Linked DNA regions of Homo sapiens: regions 1 and 3 are each linked to region 2. Evidence: promoter capture Hi-C in 16 types of primary human blood cells and fetal thymus (Javierre and others, 2016). All regions are on one chromosome and are shown on one strand. The core of a region is centred on a gene start or on the middle of the fragment in contact, and the rest is flanking DNA. Distances in the headings are between cores, read along the strand shown. Region 1 overlaps ADGB (androglobin). Region 2 holds the start of ADGB (androglobin). Region 3 overlaps ADGB (androglobin).

Region 1 (3,326 bases), core at 651-3,150, 110 kb before region 2:
ATAAAAAGTCTCCTATCAAAGAAAAGTCCAGGACCTTATGGCTTCACTGCTGAATTCTACCAAATATTTAAAGAATAATTAATACCATCCTTCTCAAAGTCTTCCAAAAAAATCTGACAAAGAGAGAATAATTTCAAACTAATTATACAGGGCAAGCATTATCTTAATACCAAAGCCAGACAAGGACACTATAAGAAAATAAACCTTAGGTCAATATCGCTGATGAACATACATGCAAAAATCCTTAACAAAATACTAGTAAACATAATTCAACAGCACATTAAAAAGATCATTTACCATGATTAAGTGGGAGTTTTCCCAGAGATGCAAGGATGGTTTGACATATGCAAATCTACAAGTATGATATACCACATTAAAAGAATAAAAGATAAAAACCATGCAATCATGTGAATAGATGGAAAAACAGCATTTCACAAAATTCAACATCCTTTTATGATTAAAAAACCTCTCAACTTACAACTAATATAAAGAATGTACTTCAACACAACAAAGGCCATATATGACAAACTCATAGCTAACATACTCAACAGTGAAAAGTTGAAAGCTTTACTTCTAAGATCAGGAGTAAGACAAGGAAAATAACCACTTCTATTCAACATATCACCTAAAGTCCTAGCTAGAGCAATTAGGCAAAATAAAGAAAAGGCACTCAAATTGGAAAGAAAGAAGCTAAATTTTTCCTCTTTTCAGATAATACAATCATATATAGAACCCCTTAAAACCCCATTAAAAATCCTGTTAGATCTAATATATAAACTCAATAAAGTTTCAGGATACAAAATCAACATACAAAAAACAAAAATAGAAATCAGTAAAATAATTCCATTTACAATAGCTACCAAAACATATTTAGGAATAAATTGAACTAAGGAGGTACCTATATTCTGAATACTATAAAATAAAACATTGATGAAATAAAATAAGACTCAAATAAATGGAAAGATGTCCCATGTTCATGAACTGAAAGAATTCATATTGTTAAAATGGCTGTACTAGCCAAAGCAATGTACAGATTCAATGTAATCTATCAACATTCTGATGAGATTTTTCACATACTAGCCAAAGCAATGTACAGATTCAATGTAATCTACCAACATTCTGATGAGATTTTAGACAGATATATTAAAAACATCCTAAAATCCATGTGAAACCACAAAAGACCCTAAATAGCTAAAGCAAAAGAACAAAGCAGGAGGCATCACACTACCTGACTTCAAAATACACTACAAAGCTATAGTAACCCAAACAGCATATATCACCATAAAAATAGACCAATGGAACAGAGTAGAGAGTCAAAAATAAATTCAAACTATTATGGTCGAAAAAGATTGACAAGAACACACAATGGAAGAAAGGAGAGTCTCTTCAGTAAATGATTTTGGGATATCCATTTACAAAAGAGGAATGTCACCTCATACCATATACAAAAATTAACTCAAAATGCATTAAGAACTTAACTTTAAGACCTGAATGTATGCTGAATGTATGAAACTATTAGAAGAAAACATAAGGGATAAGCTCCAAGAACTTGGCCTGGGCAACAAGTTTTAAGAAATAATCCCTAAAGCACAGGCAACAATTGCAAACAGACAGAAGGAATTACATCAAACTAAATTTTTTTTTTTTTGCACAGAAAAGGAAGCAATTATAAGGAGACAATCTATAGAATGGGAGAAAATATTTGTAAATCATACATCTGATAAGAGGTTAATATTCAAAACATATAAGGAACTCAAACAACTCATCATCAAGGAAACAACCCAATTGAAAAATGAGCGAAGAATCTGAATAGGCATTTCTCAGGAGAAGACATACAAATGGCCAACGTATGTGTTTTAAAAAATGCTCAACATCACTAATCATCAGAGGAACATAAATTAAGACCACAGTGAGATATCACTTCACACCTGTTAAAATGGCTGTTATCGAGAATACAAAAATAAGTGTTAGTAAGAATGTGGAAATAAGGGAAACCTTGTATATTGCTGGTGAGAAGGTAGAATGGTGCAGCCACTGTAGAAAACAGTATGGAGGTTGAAAAAAAAAAACTAAAAATAGGGCAATCATGTGATCCAGCAATCCTCCTTCTGAGTGTGTATCCAAAGGAAATGAAATCAGTGTGTCAAAGAAGAAAGAGATACCTGCCTTCCCATCTTCATTATAGCATTATTCACAAAGCCAAAATATGAAATCAAACTAATTGTCCATCCACAGATGAATGGATAAGGAAAATATGGTATATATACAAAATAGAATACTATTCAGCCTTTAAAAAGAAGGAAACTTTATCATTTGCAATAACTAGGATAAACCTGGAGGACCTTATGTGAAGTTAAATAAGCCACACACAGAAAAATAGATACTAAGTAGAATGGTAGTTACCAGGGGCTAGATGTGGGTGATTGGGAAAATACTGGTCAAAGGATACAAAGTTTCAGTTAGTAGAGATAAATTCAAGAGATCTGATTTGCAACACGGGGTCTATAGTTAATGTATTCTTGAAAATTGATAAGACAGAAGATTTTAGTGTTCTCACAACAAAAAATGAAAGGAACGTGAAGTAATACATATATTAATCAGCTCAATTTAGTTATTCAGCTATATATATATTTCAAAACATCATGTTTTACACTATAAATGCATATATTTTTTATCGATTAAAAATAAATTTTAAAAAGACAAGATTGAAAAGATAAACTTAGAACATATGAAATACATATCTAATAAAGAATAAGTCTCCATATTTCACAAAGAACATCTATGAATTGGTAAAATAGGAACATACAACCCAAATGGAAATTAGGCAAAAGACATAAGCAGGCATTGCACAGCAGCACAAACAGAAATGGCAGTAAATGTATACAAAGCTGTTCAGTCACAATAACAACCAGTTCAATGGAAAAGCAAAATGAACTACTTTTTCTTACCAATCTGATTGGCAAAATTTTTAAAAAATCCCTACACACTCCATGTGGCTATAAGGAAATATTCATACAACCTGGGTGTAATCTTATCGTGTATATTTAGCAATAATTATTTTAAAATTCCAATAGAATTGTATTTGTTGGCCAAACAATCCAACTACATGTACAAATTCATTCATAGCAGTAGTATTTATAATAGCAAAAGATTAAAATCAACCCAAGATTTCATCTATAGAGATTGATAGAAATAAACTACAGTTCATTTACATAATAAAAAATTATGAAGCTTTAAGAATGAAGATACTCTTTAGGTGTAGATTGGAATTATCTCCAGCATATATTAAGTATTTTTAAGATTATTTAATTTTGAGTAGAAAAAAA
Region 2 (3,171 bases), core at 55-2,554:
GTAAAGCAATCCTATTAAAATTACATATGTAATATTTATATAAAATTATATATGTAATATTACTTATATATGTAATATCTAAAATTTAAGCTAGTAAAAGGAATGGATTATCTGCCGGGTAACTGGAAACCTGCTTATGAGAGAGGTTAGAACTAAGGGACTAGAGATTCACAGACATGGGAATGAGTCTGGGAGAAGAATTCACAAAGAAAAAGAGTTTAAATCCTAGGGATCAGTGAATCATAGGGATCAGTCCAATGTGGAATTCTTCAGCCAGGGAAGGAAATGGAGAAACAGGCATCAAGGATGTAAGAATTCAATTTGAAATGATTGATTGCATCGCCCTCCCCATCAGGCAGAGCATGAAGAACATGAATGATCCCACTGAAGCAGGGCGGGCAGCTGGGATTCTCTCACAGTGGGAATGAACATTAGAAATGGTGTAAGTTCAAACAGCCCCAATCCTATGCTGTGGATAACTGGATATCCCTAGGGAAACAGACCACAGAAAATAATAATCATGGGGAAGTACATCCTAAGACACAACACCTAACACCAGCCCAGGACAAAGGCACCATAAAAATTCCATGAGCGAGGGTCTGTTTACTTTCTCAGAGTAAATGTTAGTAACATGAACTATACATTTATAATGTTTTAAGGTTTAGAAGCCACTTTACGTCTGACTATATCTGATTAAAGATCGTAGTCGTTGGACTGGGCAGATGCAAACTAGAAAATCACCATTAAGGTGAAATGTGTCCATGTCTGTCTGTCACTCGCTGTCTGTATCATTTCCGGGGCCATGAAGATGTGGCTTTAACCAGAAGTATTTGAGATATGCCTCTTTCTTAGGAAAGCTATGGCCTTTCTAACTGCCTGAGAGGGCTATGAAGAAGAGGAGGGGTGGCAGATTCACCCATGGGAGCTGAACACCCAAAGCAAGAAAATCAGGGGCTCTGGGAAAGGAAGTGAGTCAAGACAAGCAAGAGAGAAGGATGAGAGCGAGCACCTCCAGGATCTGGTTTACCAGAGAAGACAAGCTGCGAGGAGGCCACTAAACTTCTGCCCTGGCACAGTTTGCTGCAGGGAGGCAGCCCCAGAACTAGTGGTGAGGTCGAGGGGCTAGGCCAGGGGAGGGACGGACAGGCAGAGGTCCCTTACTCTTTCGATTTATCCGATCCGTGCGCCGAGTTGATACGATGCACCTCTTTCTTTTTGGTTTGTTTGGAGGCCATGGCAGAAGCCGATCTATGTAGGGCTGAGCTCTGAGCAAAGAGCCTGCGGGCGCGCTCGGCTCCGCGTCTGCGTTGCCAGGAGACGGCGTCCCGCGTCCAGCGCCCGGAGAGCGGGGGCGGGGCCCTGGGGGCGGGCTCTGCGGCCTGTGGCTGCAGAGGGACGCAAGAGCATAAACTGAAATCCCACATCCCCGTGGAGGAACTTGGAGTTGGTGTCTGGGGAGAAATCGAGGTTCTGGGGCACGGGTTTGGCATTAGGATTACTGGGCAGCCCTGATTAATTGGAGTTCTGCAGGACCTACACTGCCTGGCTTTGCCCTTCGGAACCATAGACATATATCGACTCTTGAATATCCAACTATTTGAACGTAGATGTTATCCTAGTACCACCCCAGTTATTCTCTTGGCTAAATATAACAAGTACCTTCAATAATTACTAAGGAGACATTACAGACACGCTGAAATTGTCAATGGCTTGAAAACCTGGGGTCCAGAAATTAACACAGTGGGTGTAAGGAAGGCAAAATAATGACACCTTGAGTCGCTGAGGGCTAGGTGATGATATCTGTAATAAAACCAATAAGGTGTCTTGTTGTTCGAATGAAAGAGTGAGTCCAAGTCATGGGCTCAGGTGGTCCTTTGCAGACTTTCCAGAAAAGGTCCAGGGGCCAGATGACACAGACAGAACCAAGTAAAATGAAACTTATTAGGGCGCAGGCTTAAGGCTCAGTCATCAGTGGTGATTTGTTAGTTATCTTGCCTTGGGCTAGTTTTTCCCTTTGAGTCTCAGTTTACTCACTTATAAATAGGAGATGCCTATTACTCACTTATAAATAGGAGTTATACCTAACTCACAGTTCTGTTTTGAGGATAAGATGCAAAGCGCAGCAAATAGGAGCCACTCTTTCAGAGATGACAGACCACCTGGTTTCGAGGAGCAGCAGACAGCGTGAATGAATGAAGTTGGCCAGGTAAATACAGAGTAGTGGATACTATGCTTAACTGAGACATGCTTAGACTGCAAGAGCTTGCAAATTTATCAAAACAAAACAAAATATTGTGTTGGTTCAATATAACCTCACTTCAGAGATATCTGACACACAGCCCTTAGGCCTAGGACCACTACTACTGGTTGGTGTCTTTCATGAGCCTAGAAATAGTTAAGTATCTTTAAATAAAAGAAATCCCCTCCACTCATGGGACTGGGCACATGCTCACAGTTCCACCTGTGCAGGCAAGAGGCAGCTTCCTGCAGAGAAAATCTTTCAACTTCTCTGACAAATGAATGCTCAGGGCTCTCCACTCAGCATAGCCTATGGTTTGTCAGACTATCCCAATCTTATTACTATTGGATTACTACTGGGGGTTACCTAGATGACAGACAGCCCCTTCGTTGTATTTCTATATGCAAAATAAATAAATTCCAAGTCAGCAGTGTTAATATTATGACTACAAGACTGCCCTGCAAACATCTCCTATATATGTAAAGACAATGAACACATCATGAAGATTCTGCTTTGTTTATACCATAATTCAAATTTCCAGAGAACTCTCTTGAATGAAAGTAGAGGACTAAATGGTGAGAAAAATTATTTACTACCAAATTTTGTCAGAGTAATCAAATTTATAGCTATAAGTATATACAAAGACTCTTGGCTGAAAACAGCACAACTTTAAGCAGCCAACCCCACAGAGAGGTGAGTTTCTTCTTGAACAAGGGCTATCCTGCAGCCATTGTTAATGGCTGCAAGATGCCAAAAGAATTAGGGAAGATAAGCCTTAGAAATCAAAAGATCTACATCCCACCGGTATTTTATGGACAAATAACTCCAGGCGAAGACAAGCAAAATGTCTTGCCAAAAGTTGCTGGGTTATTTATTGATGGAATTTGGACTAAACACATTAAAGTCAGCATTGCCAGTTTAAGCCAAACATA
Region 3 (3,438 bases), core at 702-3,201, 84 kb before region 2:
TAAATTTTTTTACAAACGTACATACTGACATTTAACTATATTTGATACTATGTTTACAAAAGAATAATATCTTTAAGACCACAGAACATAAATTAGTTGTCAGCCCAGTATATGTCTAGAATGGAGATATGAAAATCTGCCAAACTTAGAGAAACATACTTTTACATTTCAAAATTGAAATTTGTACATTTCTCATACACCTTGCCAACACATATTGATTGCCTTTTCCCTACATTACTCATTTATCTATGCTACATTTGTTTGATGATGTTAGTTATCATCTAATGTCCACAGACGCTGTCTCCCCAACTAACTTTTAATCCAAAGTTAGTTGGATTAACTAACTCTGCAGAGGCTTGGTTAATAATTTGACCTACTCCTTGTGGAATACAAGGTACTGTGTATTGTGTGATAACTTGTATGAAATAATATGTTTTTAAACATAACTAATCATCTTAAGTTTAAGGATGCAGCAAAATAATTATTCCTTTTAAAAAGAATGAATGTTTATGAAAATACTTTTCATGCACTCCTATCATCAGATAAGACCATTTGAGATACCCACATTGACCAGAATGGCCCTCAGCAGTGACCAGTAATTTACAGTCCAGTTACTTTTCTCACTGATCAATCTAATTGAAGCCCTCCAATAAGTCCTCTAATCAAAAGAAAGATTGTGAAATGCCTTTAGGTGTCAGCTGAGAGTTGAAGGCCAGTTATGGAGAGGAAGTTCCTGACAGTGATGACTGCTAAATATTAAAATGGATAAAATTTTAAAAATCAGTTTTTTTAATCTATCTTCAGAACTTTCTGCTCAAGGAAGAAGATAAGATTAAATGTACTTTCCAGGTTCAAGATTAAGCAGTTGGCTGTCTACACCTTAGGAAAGTATGAAGCATGAGAGGTGGAGGGAAGAAGAGTGAGGGTTCCTCTCTGAGCCTGGCTACTGAGCAAGATTGGGCTTCTTTACAAAAAGTCAGCTGAGTTTCCAGATGTTAAACACACACCTTACATAATGTTTGACCAAATGTCTGGGCACCCCATGGCTCGTTCAGGTTGATCTATTTCATTAGCTCTTTTCTAAATCTTGTTTTAAAAATCATAACGTGTAAAAGTATTTTGGTCCACATTATATCCCACATTTGTACATTATGCATTAGAAATTTTGATGTCTTCCCTAAAATTTTCTAAAGCTTAATATTTAATATTATCACATTAAGTACTTTGTCCTTGATCTTTAATAAGTCTTTTGAACTTTTATTTTCCTTATGATATTAAAAATAAAGTTTGTGATACAAGTATTTTGAAAAAAGTTCTCACTTACTTTATAACATTATGTAATAAAATATATGGAAACCTGGGAATTCCAGGTGAGGTCTTAGAAAACAATAACTTTAGAAACTTGGAGTAAAGAATGTGGTCTTGACATATTATAGAAATGATGTTGATGACAAAAAAATTTGCTCCAAATTTTAGGATAATCACACATTTTACATGGGATTGTAATATGTAATGTTGAAATATTAAAAAATAACACAAGTGTTTAGTTAAGGGTGAAGTTTTAAATATTTAATAAGTGGTATAGCATGGGCACAGATTAATTAAACTAGAAGCTGATTATAAATATTGGTATCACTATACTGGTGCTATTAACTAAATATCAATCTGTAAAAGCTGGATAGGAATGTGCTATTAAATAGGGATTTTCAAACTAAGTTTTATACATCTTATAAATGAGATTCAGGGGCCCAGAACTCAGTGAACTATTATGTAACACTGCAGATCTGTGTGCACACTAACTGCTTTAGTCTGTTTTGTACTGCTAAAATGAAATACCTGAGACTGGGTAACTTTTAAAGAACAGAAGTTTATTTCCCCACAGTTCTGGAAGCTGGGAAGTCCAAGATCAAGGTGCTGGCGCCTGGTGAGGAACTTTTTGCTGTGTCATCCCCTGGCCAAATAAGCATGTCATCCCATAGCCAAACTCACCCTTTTATAACAAACCCACACCTGGGATACCTAACCACTCCCATGATAATGGCATTAATCCATTCCCTCTGTCCTCATGGCCTAATTACCTCTCATTAGGCCCCACCTCCCAATATGGTTGCATTGGGGATCAAAATTCTAGCACATGGACTCCAGAAGACACATTCAACCAAGACTACAAAGGATTTGGAAAAAAAAGAGAGAAGGTTCAAAATTTTCATAAGATTTTCAAAAAAGTTTATTAGCCAAGAAAATATAAGAATTATTTGTAAAGGGTCTAAAGGGCCTTAGATAATTCCTATTTGTTCTATTATCTCTCTGTAAATATGTTGTGTGATTCTGCAATATTGGAACACCCATAATGCATTTTGATTTTATTATATATCAATAAAACTGCTTTTAGAATATCTTAAAGGCAAATGTTTAAATCTAGGGGCTCTATAATTTCTTTCAGTGAACTATGAATGGTACAGACCATGAAATTTCCTTATCTTTCCAGTTGTTGGAGTAACTTTGTATTGAATTAGCACAGCTGCATATAATAATGCTTAATAATTGAGAAAGAAATTTAAGAAAAAATATACTCTTGAATGATGAAATGAAATTTAACATCCTAGTCTCTAAAACTGCCTTAAAATATTTTGTACAGTAATTATGAGTCTTATATGGCCTACAACTGCCATACTAATTATATGTATTTTATTGCTCAAAAGAAGCTTTTGCTACATTTGTATGATTTAAATGTTTTATTTTACATGTGATACAGCTTTTTTTGCTTTCTATAAGCATATTTCAGAAGACTGCTATAAAATACGTAAGATTACTTAAATACCACTTTTATCATTGATTTCATTTTATGTTAGACATTTACTGTCTGAACCTATAAAAATTTCAGCCTGAAATTTTGAGTCCCAGTGAGATGAACCCCAAATTACTATAAATCCATAAGAAGTATTTGTTAAAGATTATATATGATTTTTTTCAGATGTGATATTTAGTTAATTTAGAATAGCTAACTTTCAGTGAATGCCTACTCTGTGCTAAGGCCTAGGTATTTCATATGAGTCAGTTCACATAAACCCTATGAAATAAATTCTATTTTTAACAGTATTTTTCAGGCAAGTAAACTGAGTTACGGATAGGTTAAGTAACATGTCCACTACACAATTAAGAAGTGTGAAGTGTAAAGTAGTCCCTGGTCTTTCTGGCAATTTTTTATTGTCTATGATTCTATGTGGCAATATCTAAAGAGGATAATGACTCGAATGTGTTCCGGCCCACTTCCTACCAGACAATGTTTGCAGGTCCAATATTTGATGCAAAGCTGAAAAGTAAAAGACTTTTTATACCAAGTCCATAATTTCTTAATACAAGTTTTAAAATAATATATATTAGTGGGCTTCTAATCTATTTCTTTCATCAGTTCCACATGTCCATATTCTTTCTTGA

The links. Contacts are between HindIII fragments. The CHiCAGO score rates a contact against its expected background, and 5 or more counts as called.
Region 1: a fragment that was not itself captured here is called in contact with the fragment with the promoter of ADGB in region 2 in 1 of 17 cell types (monocytes); the score reaches 5.3 in monocytes.
Region 3: a fragment that was not itself captured here is called in contact with the fragment with the promoter of ADGB in region 2 in 1 of 17 cell types (monocytes); the score reaches 5.9 in monocytes.

What each region holds. Positions count from the first base shown.
Region 1 is chr6:146,702,611-146,705,936 of GRCh38, reverse strand. The region is part of intron 13 of ADGB (androglobin); the gene reads right to left. Among named protein-coding and RNA genes, the nearest start is that of ADGB, 110 kb to the right of the region's middle. The HindIII fragment of the contact is 2,666 bases long and covers 568-3,233 here.
Region 2 is chr6:146,597,105-146,600,275 of GRCh38, reverse strand. It overlaps ADGB (androglobin), which reads right to left and starts at 1,304. Exons shown (of 36, transcript NM_024694.4): 1 at 1,162-1,304. The coding sequence starts at 1,235. ADGB-DT (ADGB divergent transcript) reads left to right here and starts at 1,345. Exons shown (of 3, transcript NR_125860.1): 1 at 1,345-1,443; 2 at 2,105-2,206. RefSeq lists a silencer at 1,209-1,503. The HindIII fragment of the contact is 3,644 bases long and covers 1-3,171 here.
Region 3 is chr6:146,681,626-146,685,063 of GRCh38, reverse strand. All of the region lies in intron 9 of ADGB (androglobin), which reads right to left. Among named protein-coding and RNA genes, the nearest start is that of ADGB, 84 kb to the right of the region's middle. The HindIII fragment of the contact is 1,512 bases long and covers 1,196-2,707 here.